Linked DNA regions of Homo sapiens: all the other regions are linked to region 1. The links are contacts of gene promoters, found by promoter capture Hi-C in blood cells and fetal thymus (Javierre and others, 2016). All regions are on one chromosome and are shown on one strand. The core of a region is centred on a gene start or on the middle of the fragment in contact, and the rest is flanking DNA. Distances in the headings are between cores, read along the strand shown.

Region 1 (3,650 bases), core at 758-3,257:
CATACAGAACATATCTGATTCTGACATTTACTTCGGGACAGAAGTACAGCAAAATGAACGCAAGGAAAAAAAGGGACAAAAGGAACTAGACACAGCTTCCTGACCAAGTTCCCCAAAGGCCAGATGCCTTCTCTCCAAGCTAAGTGAGACTCTGAACGGGAGACCTGCAGTCTCCTGCACAGGGATCCCCAAAGAGCCCAGGAAGGCAGGGGACTTTACACCACGCTCACAGCAGCCAGACAATTCTGAAGCTTCGGCTGCTGGCCAGGGATACTGGGAGGACAGTAAGACCCTGATCCCTGCTCCCACGAATAAGATGCCGGCTTTCCCCAGCATCTGCTTTTCCCAGTGCCCTCAGACCTCCTAGCTTCGGGGTCCCTGTTTGTGGGAGTGGCAGTGGCCGCCAGCCCTGGAGGCCTAGAAGCGGTGCGCCCAGCTGGCTGGGCTGGAGCGTGCTGCGTTACCTGAGAGGTCCTCGCGAGCGTTCTGGTGCAAGTAGCTCTGCTCCAGCGAGTAGGAGGACATGCTGGAGTGCAGGCCTGCCGAGGCGGCGGGGTTGCTGCTGGGCGTCAGGGCAGGCGGCTGCTTGAGGTAAGGCGAGGCGCCAGGCGAGCTCCAGTGCGCCGCAGGGCTCGTGTAGGGCGAGTGGCATTCGATGGCGCTCGCCATGGCCGGGGACGAGGGTACCGGGCTGCTGCTGCTGTCCGGCCCGTAGTCGCCGCCGCCGCCGCCCCCGGCCGCACCGACGCCCCCGGGTCCCGCGGGCACCGGGCAGCTGGCCATGTAGGTGGAACCCGGGTTGGGCGACATGTGCGGGACGTGGTGGTGGTGGTGGTGGTGAGGGTGCGCGTGGCTGGGGGCGCCCGCGCCGGCGTCGTAGCCCGCGGGCATCATGTCGAGGCCGCCGTAGCCGCCCTGGCTGTGGCAGCCGAGCGGCGCCGACGGGGGCGCCTGGAAGTCGAAGCCCTGGGGCAGCAGCGACGCCCCGAAGCCCAAGCCGCTCACCACGCGGTGGTACATGGGCTTGAGCGCCTGGCACTTCCGCCTGAAGCCGCGCGGCCGGCGGCGGAACGAGCCCTCCTCGAACATGAACTCGCTGGCCGGGTCGATGGTCCAGTAGTGGCCCTTGCCGGGCCGCCCGAGGCCCTTAGGCAGCTTGATGAAGCACTCGTTGAGCGAGAGATTGTGGCGCACCGAGTTCTTCCAGCCCTGGTAGGCGCCGCGGAAGAAGGGGAAGCGCGCCTGCAGGAACTGGTAGATCTCGCTGAGCGTCAGGCGCTTGCTGGGCGAGCTCTGGATGGCCATGACGATGAGCGCGATGTACGAGTAGGGCGGCTTCTCGGGCCGCCGCAGCCCCGAGCTCGCCTTCTTGGCGCCCCCGCTCCCGGCGCCCGCGCCGCCGCCGCCCGCGCTCTTGCAGGCAGCCGAGGGGGCGCTGGCCGAATTGGAGGAGGACGAGGACGAGGCGCAGGAGGCGGAGGACGACGACGAGGAGGAGGAGGTGGTCTCCGGGGCGGCGGCGGCGGCGGCGGCGGCGGCGGGCGGCGGGCTCATCAGGGCGGCCTGGAGCGCGCCGGGGACCGGGCTGCACGCGCGGCGGAGCGGGGCCGGCGGCGGCCCGCCCTCGGTGGTCATCTGGGACCCGGGAGCGAGGCCGGGCCGCGAGGGCGGGCCCCGGGCGGGAAGCGGAGGCGCCGGAGCGGGGTCGGCCCAGAAGCCCTGCGAGCGCCCTAGCCCGCCGCCCGGGCTGCAGCCGTGGCCACTCCGGGCCAGCGCTTCGGCGTCGCCTCCCTCAGCTCCTCTGGGGCTTCTGGCGGCGGCGGCGGCGGCGGGCGGGAGGCAACGCCCGGCGCATCCCTCCCCGAGCCGCGGGCCCTGCCTTGCGCAACGGCCTCCCAGGCCGCGGGGCCGAGCGGCCGGCGCCGGGCGACTGCGCCCGCGAGTGGGACCGCGGCCTGGACCCCGGGGACGAGCCCGACGTCTCCCTTCAGGAGCGCTCCTCGCTCTGTCTCTCGGACTTCCTCCCTCCCTCGCCCTCCCCGGCCGCCCTCCTCGCTCCCTCCCTCCCTCCCTCCCCCCCCACCCCGCCCTGCCCCCTCCTCGCTCCGCGCCGCCGCGCTCACTCCTCCCCCTCCCGACCTGGCGGCCGCCTCCCTCTCTTATCTCGCTCCCCGCTCTCCAGGGTCTCCTCGCTCTTCATTCCTCTCGCGGCCTCCTCCCCTTTCCCTCACTCACCCTCTTTCCAATTGAGGGATCACAGACTCACTCCGGTTCTGCCAGGGGGACGACCCCCACCCCTCGCAAAACTCGACCACCTCTGACTTCATGAAATATTCTTTCTGTTTGCCCCCCGCAGCAAGCCCCGCGTCCCATCCCAGGACCCAGCCCCGCCCCTCCGCGCCCCCTTCCTCCTCCTGGCCCGCCGGGCCGAGTGGTGCTGCTGCGGGTGCGGCTGCTCGGAGCCTCCCTGGCCGCCCTCCCCAGGGCCGATACTGACTCCATCTGTCAACTTCGTTTAGACTTTGCCGCCCTCAGCCACACGCCGGGGTGCCAGACGCCCAAAGGTAACGTGCCAATCCTCTCTCTTTCTGGCAGGGCCTGCAGGCTCCCCGACAATTGTTAGGGCGACTGGGGGCCGCCGCAGGGTTGCGGGCCGCTGGCGATCGTGGACGTTTTCGGAACTTTGAGCAGAGGGATTTACACTGAGAAACCTAGGCCAAGTTTCAAAGACTCTGGAAACCTGGATCTCATGGGACTTAGGGTTGCATTTGCTTCCACTTCTTCCCCCCACCCCCGCACCCCAGTTAGTGTTCTGTAAGAAAAAAGTGCAAAAGAAAAAGGAAGGAAGGAAGAAAAGAAAGAAAGAGAAAGAAAAAGAAAGACCCTGAGATAAGCGAGATGGCTATATTTATAGTCAGTCCTGAAGGGGTGTGCAGCTGTCACTAGGTTTACATCCTCCGTCTTAACATTGCCCACCCAAAACTGTGCCAGGTCTCAGCTAACTCCTGTCCGAGAACACTTCTCCCCAGTTGTGGCTAATTCCTCCCTAAGTAAGAGTCAGGCTCTGAGAGAGATGTGCCCTCGGGAGCAATCACTTCCAATGAGACCCGACAGTTAGTTATTGGATTACACGTGCAGGGAAATGTAGTCCGACCAGGGATAGGAGCTGGGAGAGGGAGGAGGAGAGCAGGAGGCCGGAGCTGGCGGGGCCTCCCAAGGGCTGAAGGGGGAGGCCCAGAAAGAAGGTGCTGCAGACCAGCGGACCAAACAGGAGGTAGAGCTGGGCACCCCGCTGCGTCTAGGCTGAAAGGACCGAGGTGCACGGGTGTGCCTGCTGGGGAGCCTGGGGAGTTGCAGGAGGCAGGAGAAAGGGAGGTTGTGCAGTAATCAGGAGGAAGACACCAGGCAAAGAGCCTTCACAGCCGCACAGCCTAGGCAGGCCCCCTGGGGCGGCAGGAGCCCTGTGTGCCCCTGGAGTGCCGGGGGACTGCTCCTGGCTGAGTGTGCTGGTGGGGCTGTAGATGCAGAGAGGGCGGGTGGGGAGGGGAGGGGTATGTGGGAGGGGGGTGGGCCGGGGCTGGCCCCAGACAGTGACCTGAGGTTGAGTGGAAGCAGGCTTTTTCCATCAAACCCTGCCTGGATACCACACA
Region 2 (3,650 bases), core at 542-3,041, 580 kb after region 1:
GCTGTGCAATTCTAGATTGTGTCCAGGTTGCTACAGATTTAGGGGAGAGGAGGAGTTCAACACAAACAGAAGAATTTCAATACAAACAATACAAACCATTGTTTTGATGTATTTCAAATCACCTTAATAGGTGCTTTAAAATTCTTCCCCTAGGAGAAAATTGCTGTGCCTTTTTATGCATCTCATCTTTTGGGTATCCTACCCCCTTCTCTATTAAAGGGCTTGAATCTTGACCCTAGCCTCAGATACTGGCCATCAACACCTGATCAAACAGGCTCTCACACCAACCAGATAGTATATTCAAGTGCTGCCTTCCTCAGTTAAAGGTGAAGGTGGAATGAAAGGCATTTGGCAAGTGCTGTCCAATAGCCCAGCATGTGTGGTATACACAGTCACACTTTTTCAGATTCAAAATCCATGACACACTCCAAGACAGTTTTATATTTAATGCTTATGTGAACAATCCTCAGATATACTGCATATGCTGTAATCAAAATCACATGACGACTGCTTTCCAAAATACCAATGATATATCTACAAAGTATTCCCATGTGGAATGGCTTACAGTCATCATGAAGTTTCTCCATTTCAAGGATTCAGGCCTTCATGGAGTGGAGAGTGTGATTTGACTTGGGAAGCTGTGTAACATCAGAATATTTACAGGAAGTAACACAACATCACCTGATACCTTCATATTGCAGAGTAAGATTCACAAATTAGCCTGCCATTACTCTAAAATGTTAAAGTCATAGAGGCCGTTGTTGAACTTTCTGGTAGCCAGAGAAAGTCTCTACCAATTTATGCTATACCCATTCTGTAGATTTCTTTATTAACCATCAATAAGCAAATGTATGCACAATAAAGATGAATGTTGGGTGATTTTATATTCTCCAGCATGGACCAACACAACCAGTTTGAAAGTTAGTCAATGCCCAACATTTTAGAAAGAGTTACCTCAGGCTGAAAATGAAAATGAAATGAAAATGAATTTCGTTTTTCCAGAGTACTCAACAATGGCTGACTATAGGGAAGAATGGCATGCTGAAAGTTGAATAGGCCCTAGGAGAATGCAATGATTTCTCCGCTTTGGAAATTGGCACATAAAAATTCTAAATAAATTTAGGCAATAACTACTATTACGATGGTGAAATTTTATATTTCCTTATCTTTTGTATTTTCTTAGAAATTTGATGCATCAAAATCATATTGTATTTCCTGACGCATTTTTTGAGAAACATCTGTTGATTTGCTGATGGGAATTACATCAACCTATGGTGACATTCATTCACTCATTGCAAATACATATTGCCCCTTGACATAAAGAGGATGGGGAGAAAAGTTGCTCCTTATTCTGACTCTGATCTCATTTGTGAAAGGTAACTGTGTGCAGTAATTCTGCAATCTCGAAAGATGTGACAGTTATACTTTGCACCCAATTATTTGTGGCCCTCCTATTAGAGGATAATAGATCCTTAGTGACTGTCATGTAACTTGTGATGCCTTCCTGTGAGAGAAGGATGTCCCTGTGGCCTTTGATGCTTAGGCACGGCCCAGGACTTGCTTTAGGCGACAGAGCATGGCATACATCTTATCCGAGGTGAACTCTAAGAACTGCTCTATGATTCCCCTCTGCCTGTCTTTTCTTCTCTCATGAGAATGGTATGTTTCCAGTGAAGCTATTCCTCAAACTTACATCCTGGAATGAAAACCTTCAGACAACATATAATGAGAGTGAGAAATAAATCTTTGTTGTTTTAAGCCACTGAAATTTAGACGTTATTGGTAACTGCAGAATAAACTAAAGAAGTTGAATATGGTAGTCCACTCTTATACAAAGTTTTGCTTTTTGTTGCTTCAGTTACCCAAGATAAACAAAGAAGGCTGAGTACAGTAAAAGAAAGAAATTCTGAGAGAGAGATACAACATTCACATAACTTTTATTACAATGTACCATCCTAATTGTTCTACTTTATCTTTAGCTATTGCTGTTCGTTTCTTACCATGCCTAATTTATAAACTAAACTTTATCATAGGTATGTATGTACAGGAAAAAACATAGTCTACACAGGGTTTGATACTGTTGTTGGTCTCAGGCATTCACTGGGGGTCTTGGAGTGTATCCCTCACGGATAATGGGGGATGACTGGATACAAAGCAGTGAGGCTGAAGATGAGGAGCCCACACAGTAAGGATGGAAGCTCACAGGCAGAGGAAGTGTGGCTCCCTAGTGACACTGCCAAGCTCCCATTCCAGCCTTTGAACTACCTACCCCTAGAATTGGCAATATATGAGACAATTAATTAAACTTCACTAGTACTTAAGCCTTTCCCCTTCTTCCTTCACATCTGCCACGCTGGCAGGGGAGTCTTGCCCCTGCTTCCATGTGCCGGCCCACTCCCTTCTTACCTTCTTGGGCCGTTTCTCCATCAGTTGCCATCCCTCCCTGGACTGGGTCCTCCATGCTTGCATTTGAGTGTCATCAGTCACCATCTCTTCCTGAAAGTCTACATTGACCTGTCAACAGCTGCCTGATTCTCAGTCTGCATCTGGTTTCCTACACAGGTGGGAAATCATCCACAGTATCCTATGCTTAACTTGTCTTAACACTTAGCATACTTTATCCTCATTGTCTGTCTTCTTGCTTGTGTTCAATATTACATGTAGGTTTTAATCTGTTTTTTCATGATTCTTTCATCAATACCTGTTCAGAGAAAATTAAGAATATTTGGTAGAGAGTAAGCTCCGAACTGATAGTATCTACCAAATTATCTAGAAAATGACAGGAGCTTAGTAAATGTTTCATTTTGTTTTTCTGTTTTTTGTTTTTGTTGTTTTTGTTTGTTTTTGTTTGTTTGTTTGTTTGGGACAGAGTCTCACTGTGTCTCCAGACTGGAGTGCAGTGGGGTGACCTCGGCTCACTGCAACCTCTGCCTCCTGGGTTCAAGCGATTCTCCTGCCTCAGCCTCCCAAGTAGCTGGGACTACAGGTGCACACCACCATGCCCAACTAATTTTTGTATTTTTAGTAGAGACAAGGTTTCTCCATGTTGGCCAGGATGGTCTCGATCTCCTGACCTGGTGATCTGCCCGCCTCGGCCTCCCAGAGTGCTGGGATTACAGGAGTGAGCCACCGCGCCTAGCCTAGGGGCTTAGTAAATGTTTATTGTAAAATACATGTATCCCTGAAGGATGAAGGGAAGCAAGTATCTAGTTCTAGTACAAGGAGGTTGTAGGATAGGCAAATAATGGAGGTTGAATTGAAATGAGAGGTTGTGGTCTGCTCATAGAGAGCAATGAAAGTCCTGGTAAGGTGTGTGTTCTTCCATCTTCAGGCAATGGGATACCATTCCAAGGTTTCAAGCAAGGAAAATCATATTTCATCCTGCATCTTAGAAAGAGCACTGATGACAATGAAGGACATGAACAGGGAAAGGAATTGGCTGAAGATTATGTTTCTATCATCAGGCTAAGACATTCATTAAACTAGGCTGGTAGTATAGATTTTTAAAAAGAAGACATGATATAAGATACATTTAAGAGACAGAATTGACACAGCTAAAGACATCAGCTAGTTGTATAAAGAGAGAGGGAAGAGTTGAAGACGAGGCAGGGGTTTCTTGCTTGCCGGTGGTGGTGTTAATCAAGGCCAGA
Region 3 (3,650 bases), core at 823-3,322, 560 kb after region 1:
GGTTACATGTGCAGGACATGCAAGTTTGTTACATAGGTAAACGTGTGCCATCGTGGTTTGCTGCACCTATCAACCCATCACCTAGGTGTTAAGCCCAGCAACCATTAGCTATTTTTCCTGATGCTCTCCCTCCTCACACTTCACCCCAACAGGCCCCAGTGTGTGTTGTCCCCCTCTCTGTGTCCATGTGTTCTCATTGTTCAGCTCCCACTTATACGTGAGAACATGCAGTGTTTGGTTTTCTGTTCCTGTGTTAGTTTGCTGAGGATAAAGCCTTCTAGCTCCATCCATGTCCCTGCAAAGGACATGATCTCCTTCCTTTTTATGGCTGCATAGTATTCCATGATGTATATGTACCACATTTTCTTTACCCAATCTATCACTGATGGACATTTGGGTTGATTCCATGTCTTTTGTGAATAGTGCTGTAGTGAATATACGTGTGCATGTATCTTCATAATAGAATGATTTATATTCCTTTGGGTATATACCCAGTAATGGGATTGCTGGGCCAAATGGGATTTCTGGTTCTAGGTCTTTGAGAAATTGCAACACTGCCTTCCACAATGGCTGAACTAATTTACACTCCCACTAACAATGTAAAAGTGTTCCTATTTCTCCACAGCTTTGCCAGCATCTGTTGTTTCTGGACTTTTTAATACTCACCATTCTGACTGGTATAAGATAGTATCTTGTTGTGGTTTTGACTTGCATTTCTCTAATGATCAGTGACGTTGAGCTTTTTTTCATATGTTTGTTGGCTGCATAAATGTCTTCTTTTGAGAAGTGCCTGTTCATGTCTTTTCCCCACTTTTTAATGGGATTGTTTGTGTTTTTCTTGTAAATTTGTTTAAGTTCCTAGTAGATTCTGGATATTAGAACTTTGTTGGATAGATTGCAAAAACATTCTCTCATTCTGTAGGTTATGATAGTTTCTTTTGCTGTGCAGAGGCTCTTTAGTTTAATTAGATCCCATTTGTCGATTTTTGCTTTTGTTGCAATTGCTTTTGACATTAATTAATTTTTGTATAAGGTGTAAGAAAGTGGTGCAGTTTCAATTTTCTGCATATGACTAGCCAGTCTTCCCAGCACCATTTATTAAATAGGGAGCCCTTTCCCCATTGCTTGTTTTTGTCAGGTTTGTTAAATATCAGATGGTTGTATATGTGCATCTTATTTCTGAAATCTCTTTTCTGTTCCACTGGTCTATGTGTCTGTTCTTGTACCAGTACCATGCTGTTTTGGTTACTGTAGCCTTGTAGTATAGTTTGAAGTCAGGTAGTGTGATGCCTTCAGCCTTATAGAACTTATATTCTTAAATACTACTTTTAATATTTTGAGAAATTAATATTTTGAGAAATACTTTGAGATAATATTTTGAGAAATTATCATCATGGTACTGAATAAAATGGTATATATGAGCATGCACTACAGGCTGCTTGGAGTCACCAGTATCCAGTGTCTCTGATTATACTTTCTCACCCACAGGCAGGAATGTGTAACCAGTTCAGGCCAAGAAGTTGTGAGTGGCAGTGACGTGTGCATTGAATTCTAGCATGAAACTTTCCACCATTCTCCTCCCCTGCTTATAGTAGTTGAGGGAGAAGCTTCATGCTAAAGTGAGGAAGCCACAGACAGAAGCCAGTGAGGACACCGATATCTGAGAAGTGTGCCCCACACCTCCTCCCAGACCTACTTGCCCTACTATTACAGTCCTGTTCTTTTCCAGTTCTTGACCAGCCTGTTATCCACTACACATGAATCAGCATAAATTTGAAACTTGAGTCAGTGGAAAACCAGACGTATCACCCCAAATTCATCCCGCTCTATCAAATTCACAGTTTATTTTTGTGTTGATGGGTAGAATCAGGATACAGTAGCTGTTGGCACTACTTCTTGCTGGTATCACACCAGGAAGACCTCTGCTGTGCATTCCCCTTTGCCTGTCCAGGTCCATGCCCACCTTACTCCATGTTCCAGGAGCCAGACCTTTATCAAGTGCATCAGACAGACTCCCTTGCTCTCTGGCTTCCAGTTGGATTTGGCCAGCTGGTGGCAGTTATTGAAATGAGCCAATTATGGCCTCTGCAAATAGACTCCTGGGTTGTTTATTTCTTCACTGCAGGCTGAGATCTATTACCTCAAAAGCCCACAGGTGTCAAATTCAAGTTGTTGGACATCCAATTATTTTAAAAATAGCCCAACTAAGCAGATCTGGGGCTAGTTAGAGCCCATGTGCTCTGCATACTCCAGGACACCTCATCCTGCATCTGTTGGCCATTATAAGATAAAGCCTCATGGTTGCAAGCTCCCCAAGCCACTTCGGCCCTTCAGAGCTCTCCGACTTGAGCCCCCACTATCATGCTTCTGAGTGGCATCACCTGGACACGTAAGCTCCTCCTCTAATCCTCCTCTCCCCAGGAGTTCCCTTGCTCTCCTCCCCTTCTGGGTGTGTCCCTCCCATAAGCCACTGGCTAGTCTCCTGCTGTGAGGGATCCTTTATGTGATCCTATCCAAGCGCTGCCCAGTGAAGCTTGCTGGGTGTTACTGCTTCTCGTGGTCAAGTCTTCTTCTTCGGTCAGCTCCAAATCCCTTGAATCCCTTTTAAAGGCATCAGGAGAAAACTTGAGCTTGAGGGGTGAGAGAGGTCAGTGTATTCATCCTTTGAACTTTCTTTCTCCAAAATTACAACTTGGCAATGATGGTATACTTTCCCCAAATCCACAGATCTTTTGGAGGGAGGCAGCCTTCTCTGTCTAATGCAGGCCTCCTCAGGTTCTCAAAGTCATCACCTTTGCTTGCGGTTTCAGGCCTAGCATGTTATCCGTTTCTCAGTGTTGTTAGCCCTGGGGTGCTAACTATTCCTTATTTCCCTTAACCCTGCCTACCCATATGTAAATACATACTATTTAGATGGCTTGTCTGTTTCATCAAAGACCCCATTTCATACCAAGGTCCTTACTTTTTCACAAGATACATCCATTAACTAGGCCCACTGTTTTCCCTATTCTGTTCATTTTATACAGGAAACTCCCAATGAGGCCATAGATTCAGCTTGAAGGAGAGGTTATGAGGCAATAGGAAAAGGTAACGTGGTATCTGAATCCCTGTGCATGCATGCCACTTACCTGTGCCCTCTGGCACCTGCTTAGCTCCATCCCACACATACTGTTTTCTTTAATAATGAATGCAATGTGGCACAACTTTATAATTCAATTCATTGTGTAATATCCAGTTCACAATGGGCATCTACCATGTTGTCACTTGGTATCCCACGGTTAGACATTCCATCTCTGCAAGGGACAAGTAGCAAGTCAGGAGCTGCCCTGCAAGTGGAAAAGAATTGTTGTAACCACAAAAGGGCATAGCCTTCCTCTAAAACCTCAGGCATCTGCTCTGCCAGTCTCCTATTGAGACTTGCCTGTCCTTCATACCACAGCCTCACTTGCCACAGACTCCCAGTGCCATTGTGCTTGTCGGTTTATTTTCTCAAAGATTAGAACAGCTTGAAGAAGAGCTTAGAGCCATTACAGTCTTTTCTTATGCTGAGCTTACTCAGCAGGTTTACAGAGCAGCACGCTCAAATGTGGTACGTGTTGCCTACAAAATTGAAAGAGAACCACTCAGCATTGTGCCTTTTTCTCCATGGT
Region 4 (3,650 bases), core at 595-3,094, 510 kb after region 1:
AGTTTGGGTGAGGTCCTCGCTAACATCAAAAGGACAATGAATATCTCAATTGGTGTTTAATATTTTATTTTGTGCCATTTTAAAAAGCAATTTAGATTTTACGTGAATTAGACGGGTGTGTCTTACTCCCATCCAGATAAAATATGGGCAGGGAAGCCTGGACTCCTGGAGATGTTCCTGCAGGAAGTCCATGGGCACCTGAGTAGTTGGAATGGGAAGGGAGAGTTTGACCCGAGACAGAGCATGAGCTCCTCCCAGGAACAAAGGCTTTATGAAAATATCCTGCTTCCCATCCCTGGGAGAGGGTCAGGGTGGGCGGAAGGGTCAGGAGAAAGAAAGATCATCAAAGAAGAAAGTCAACCAAAAACTGGAAAAGAGCGGACCCATCCCATTGTTTCCACTGAATTCATGTCATGAGAACAGACTCCTGGGGTCCCATTTCCTGTCTCTCCTGCACTTTTTCTCATGAGAATCTTGTCTTGGACTATGGGCCTGTAACAGTTTTGGACAGTCAAGGGCACCAGGCTATCAGCTGAGAATAAGGTATAGGGAAAGACAGCCTCCTTGGCAATCAAATGATTAAGCCAAGAGATGAAGCATCAGCCTTTTATTAAACTCTCATGCTAGCTACGTGTTCATTTCCTAAAGCGTCTTCTCTAGACCAGTGGAAGAGTGTAAAATGGGAATGCAATCCAGCTTGCTAACATTACATCAGAAGCTCAGTTTGGTATGGTACCTCATCCCCTCGTGTTGCCCTCACCCAGCAAACAAACAAAACCCTGCTAAATCTCAGTCCCAGAAAACAAACAGCTCGACCACTATGGGAGGAGATCACTTTTCTGGGAAATCTGGAGAAGAAAACAATTGATTCCATTCTGTCACGAATGGTTTGGTCTCATCTCCACATAGACGCTGAAGTGGAACTGAACAATCTCATGGATCTATCCTCTTTTTCTCTCTTTACATAACCCACCTCCTTTTCCCATCAGGGCTACAGAAAATAGGACATAACTGGGTCATTAGGTTCAGGCCCAGAGATCTGTCAAAAGGTCAATGGAGTGATATTTTCACAGCTAACAAGAGAGTAGTTTTCCCACTGACAATGTGGGGGTGAGAGACATTTGTGCTTCCCTGATTTCCTATCAAGTTTAGATTGCAAGTTTAGATAGCTGCATGGATGGGTAGATGATAGAGAGACGATAGGAGATGGATTGATAGATACATGAGATAGGAAAATAGGCAGACAAGTGCACTCTATAAAAGAGGAGATGAAGGGGAAAATTAGAAAAATGACAAAGTTCTTTTTGGAGTTTTTCGTTTGTTGGCCTGTGTTTTGGTTCTGTTTATATTTAAAATAGAGTATAGGGATTGTAAAGACGGTGGCCAGGTGAACTCTTGTCTCAAAGCCTTGCATCTCTCTTCTAGCAGGGCTGTTGTAAGATGAGTCATCAGGACCCAGAAAAGGCAACGTAGCAAGCCACCGTCCGCCAGATCACCTTTTCTAGAGTGCAGTGGGTTATCTTCCTCATGAGTGAGCCCAGAGGAAACACTGGATCTCCATGGAAAAATCACCCCCATAAAGGGAAGCAGACCCCGACCTGGGCCGCAATCTTCACCCAGCCCTCCATCTTCTAAAAATAACAGCGCCAGGCCACTCTTCCTTCCAGCTGCAGGCTCAGGACAGGGACTTTCTAAAAAAAAAGAAAAAGAAAAAGCACTTCTTCCTGTTTCACTAGTACTAGACACAGATGGCCAAGGACTCCCCACACAGATGCCCTAAATTTCACGTCCACTGTGACCAGGATGATGTGAAAGGGAAAACAGGCTGCTGCTGGCCATGGTTAGAGAACCGGGAAACAGGGCAGCTGTCCGTGGGGCTTTGGCCATTAGAGCCACGGGAAAGACATTCGCTGATTTCGCCTGTTTTCCTACCCTCTCCACAAAGCAAGGGCAGGTGTTTTAGAGACGCTTTGGTGTTTTAGAGATAGGCGGGTGTTTTAGATATGCTTTGGGTTGGAGCTAGATGTTACATCTTCACTCAGAGGGACCTGAGTGCACACACAAGCCAGTTCCTGGGCACTGGGTTCCACTCTTGTGTGCTGCTAAGTGGTAGGGCCCTGGTTTTCTAGAAGAGCAAAGCAGCTTTCTATCATACCAAAGCAGCTTGAGTCTCACGCTGGTCCTCAGGCAGCAAAGCAAAGGATGGGTAATACTTCCCTCCACAAACGAAGGTTCAACCAGAGAGGCTCCCATGCTCCTGGGGTACCCACAATGTTCCAACAGCCTCCTGATGGGTCCTAGTGGTGAAAAGATGCAACGGCCCAGCGCCAGGCCTCAGGGGACCTCCCCCATCCCCCCACAGCATCTGTCCCACGGGTCACTGCAGCCTCAGCCTCAGGCAAAACCTCTGGAAATCAGGAAATCTCCAGCTGTTTCCACAAAACCTCTAGCCCTTCGTTCTACTCTGCACAAACCCTCTCCTGGGAACTATATTAAAAATGAAATTAAATTTTATAAGAGCAGGCATTATATTGCCAGTTCTCACTGTGTACTGTATAGGTACATAGCCTGAGCTTGATCACATATGGGATTTTTGTTCTTTGTATAACAATTTGGGAATCAAGCACTTAGTCCATACTATAACCTCCATTATAAAACTTTTCTGTTAATAAATTAGATTAGACTTACATCATTTCAACTTGTAGTGCCTTTCCCAGAAACATAACCAGCCATAAGTTCCAGGAATGCAGTTTTGACCAGAGGGAAAAAGGGGCTCAAGGCCAAAGACCTGGGTTCAATCCCCTTTCTCTGCTACTTCCTGGCTGAATTTCTTAGGGAAGTTGCTCAGCTTCCTCCCATGTGAACTGTAGTTAATGGTAACAGCCACCTGCCTTGCTTGTTTTCATGATCAACTGTGAAGATAAAATAAAAGCACTTTATAAATGCTTTATGAACATCAGCTAGAAAGATAAATACCTTTGCTTGAAGCAGTCAATAATGATGAAATCCATACAAGCCAATCAACATTTCATTTAATGTTCCATGTTCCATTTCCAAAGGGAAAAAATTCTCTCCACAGAAGTTGGTAAAAATAGAGGAGTATTAGTTTGCTAGAGCTGCCATGACAAAGTACCACAGACTGGGCAGCTTAAACAACAGAAATTTATTCTCTCACAGTTCTGGAGGCTGGAAGCCTGAGATCGGGTTGTGTAGGGCTGGATTCTCCTTGGGGCCTCCCTCCTTGGCTTGTAGATGACGTCTTCTCCCTGTGTCCTCACATGGTGGTCCTTCTGTGCGTGTCTGTGTCCTAATCTCCTCTTCTTACACAGTCCCCAGTCAGATTGGATTGGAGTCCACCGTGGTCACCTAATTTTAATTTCACGACCTCTCTAAAGGCCCTGTCTCTAAACACAGCCACATTCTGAGGAACTGGGGGAGTTGGAGCAGGACACAGTTCAGCCCACATCAGATGGGTAGGACAGAAACTTCACCCATAAATTGAACTTGTTCATTTACTTTTTTCACTCTTTAATTTCAATCATCGAGTTCATTCAAAGAATGGTCTCTGATATAATGAATCTAGAAACTTTGGGCTGGCCTCATTTTCTCTACAACTTGATTTGTGGCCACGCTTACTAAGCCCGGGAACG

Evidence for each region. Contacts are between HindIII fragments. The CHiCAGO score rates a contact against its expected background, and 5 or more counts as called.
Region 2: a fragment that was not itself captured here is called in contact with the fragment with the promoter of FOXF2 in region 1 in 9 of 17 cell types (M2 macrophages, naive B cells, M0 macrophages and 6 more); the score reaches 13.2 in M2 macrophages.
Region 3: a fragment that was not itself captured here is called in contact with the fragment with the promoter of FOXF2 in region 1 in 3 of 17 cell types (M2 macrophages, M1 macrophages and M0 macrophages); the score reaches 6.6 in M2 macrophages.
Region 4: a fragment that was not itself captured here is called in contact with the fragment with the promoter of FOXF2 in region 1 in 1 of 17 cell types (M1 macrophages); the score reaches 5.7 in M1 macrophages.

Annotation. Positions count from the first base shown.
Region 1 is chr6:1,387,933-1,391,582 of GRCh38, reverse strand. It overlaps FOXF2 (forkhead box F2), which reads right to left and starts at 2,007. Exons shown (of 2, transcript NM_001452.2): 1 at 465-2,007. The coding sequence starts at 1,635. FOXF2-DT (FOXF2 divergent transcript) reads left to right here and starts at 2,122. Exons shown (of 3, transcript NR_187218.1): 1 at 2,122-2,564. MIR6720 (microRNA 6720) reads left to right here and starts at 1,172; the gene lies at 1,172-1,269. RefSeq lists an enhancer at 1-825. The HindIII fragment of the contact is 4,023 bases long and covers 254-3,650 here.
Region 2 is chr6:808,247-811,896 of GRCh38, reverse strand. No RefSeq gene overlaps it. Among named protein-coding and RNA genes, the nearest start is that of EXOC2, 120 kb to the right of the region's middle. The HindIII fragment of the contact is 5,397 bases long and covers 1-3,650 here.
Region 3 is chr6:829,663-833,312 of GRCh38, reverse strand. No RefSeq gene overlaps it. Among named protein-coding and RNA genes, the nearest start is that of EXOC2, 140 kb to the right of the region's middle. RefSeq lists enhancers at 2,887-3,432, 3,433-3,650 and a silencer at 3,410-3,650. The HindIII fragment of the contact is 926 bases long and covers 1,610-2,535 here.
Region 4 is chr6:873,013-876,662 of GRCh38, reverse strand. LOC101927691 (a long non-coding RNA gene) reads right to left here. Exons shown (of 3, transcript NR_110853.1): 2 at 2,689-2,912; 3 at 50-1,691. Among named protein-coding and RNA genes, the nearest start is that of EXOC2, 180 kb to the right of the region's middle. The HindIII fragment of the contact is 5,041 bases long and covers 1-3,650 here.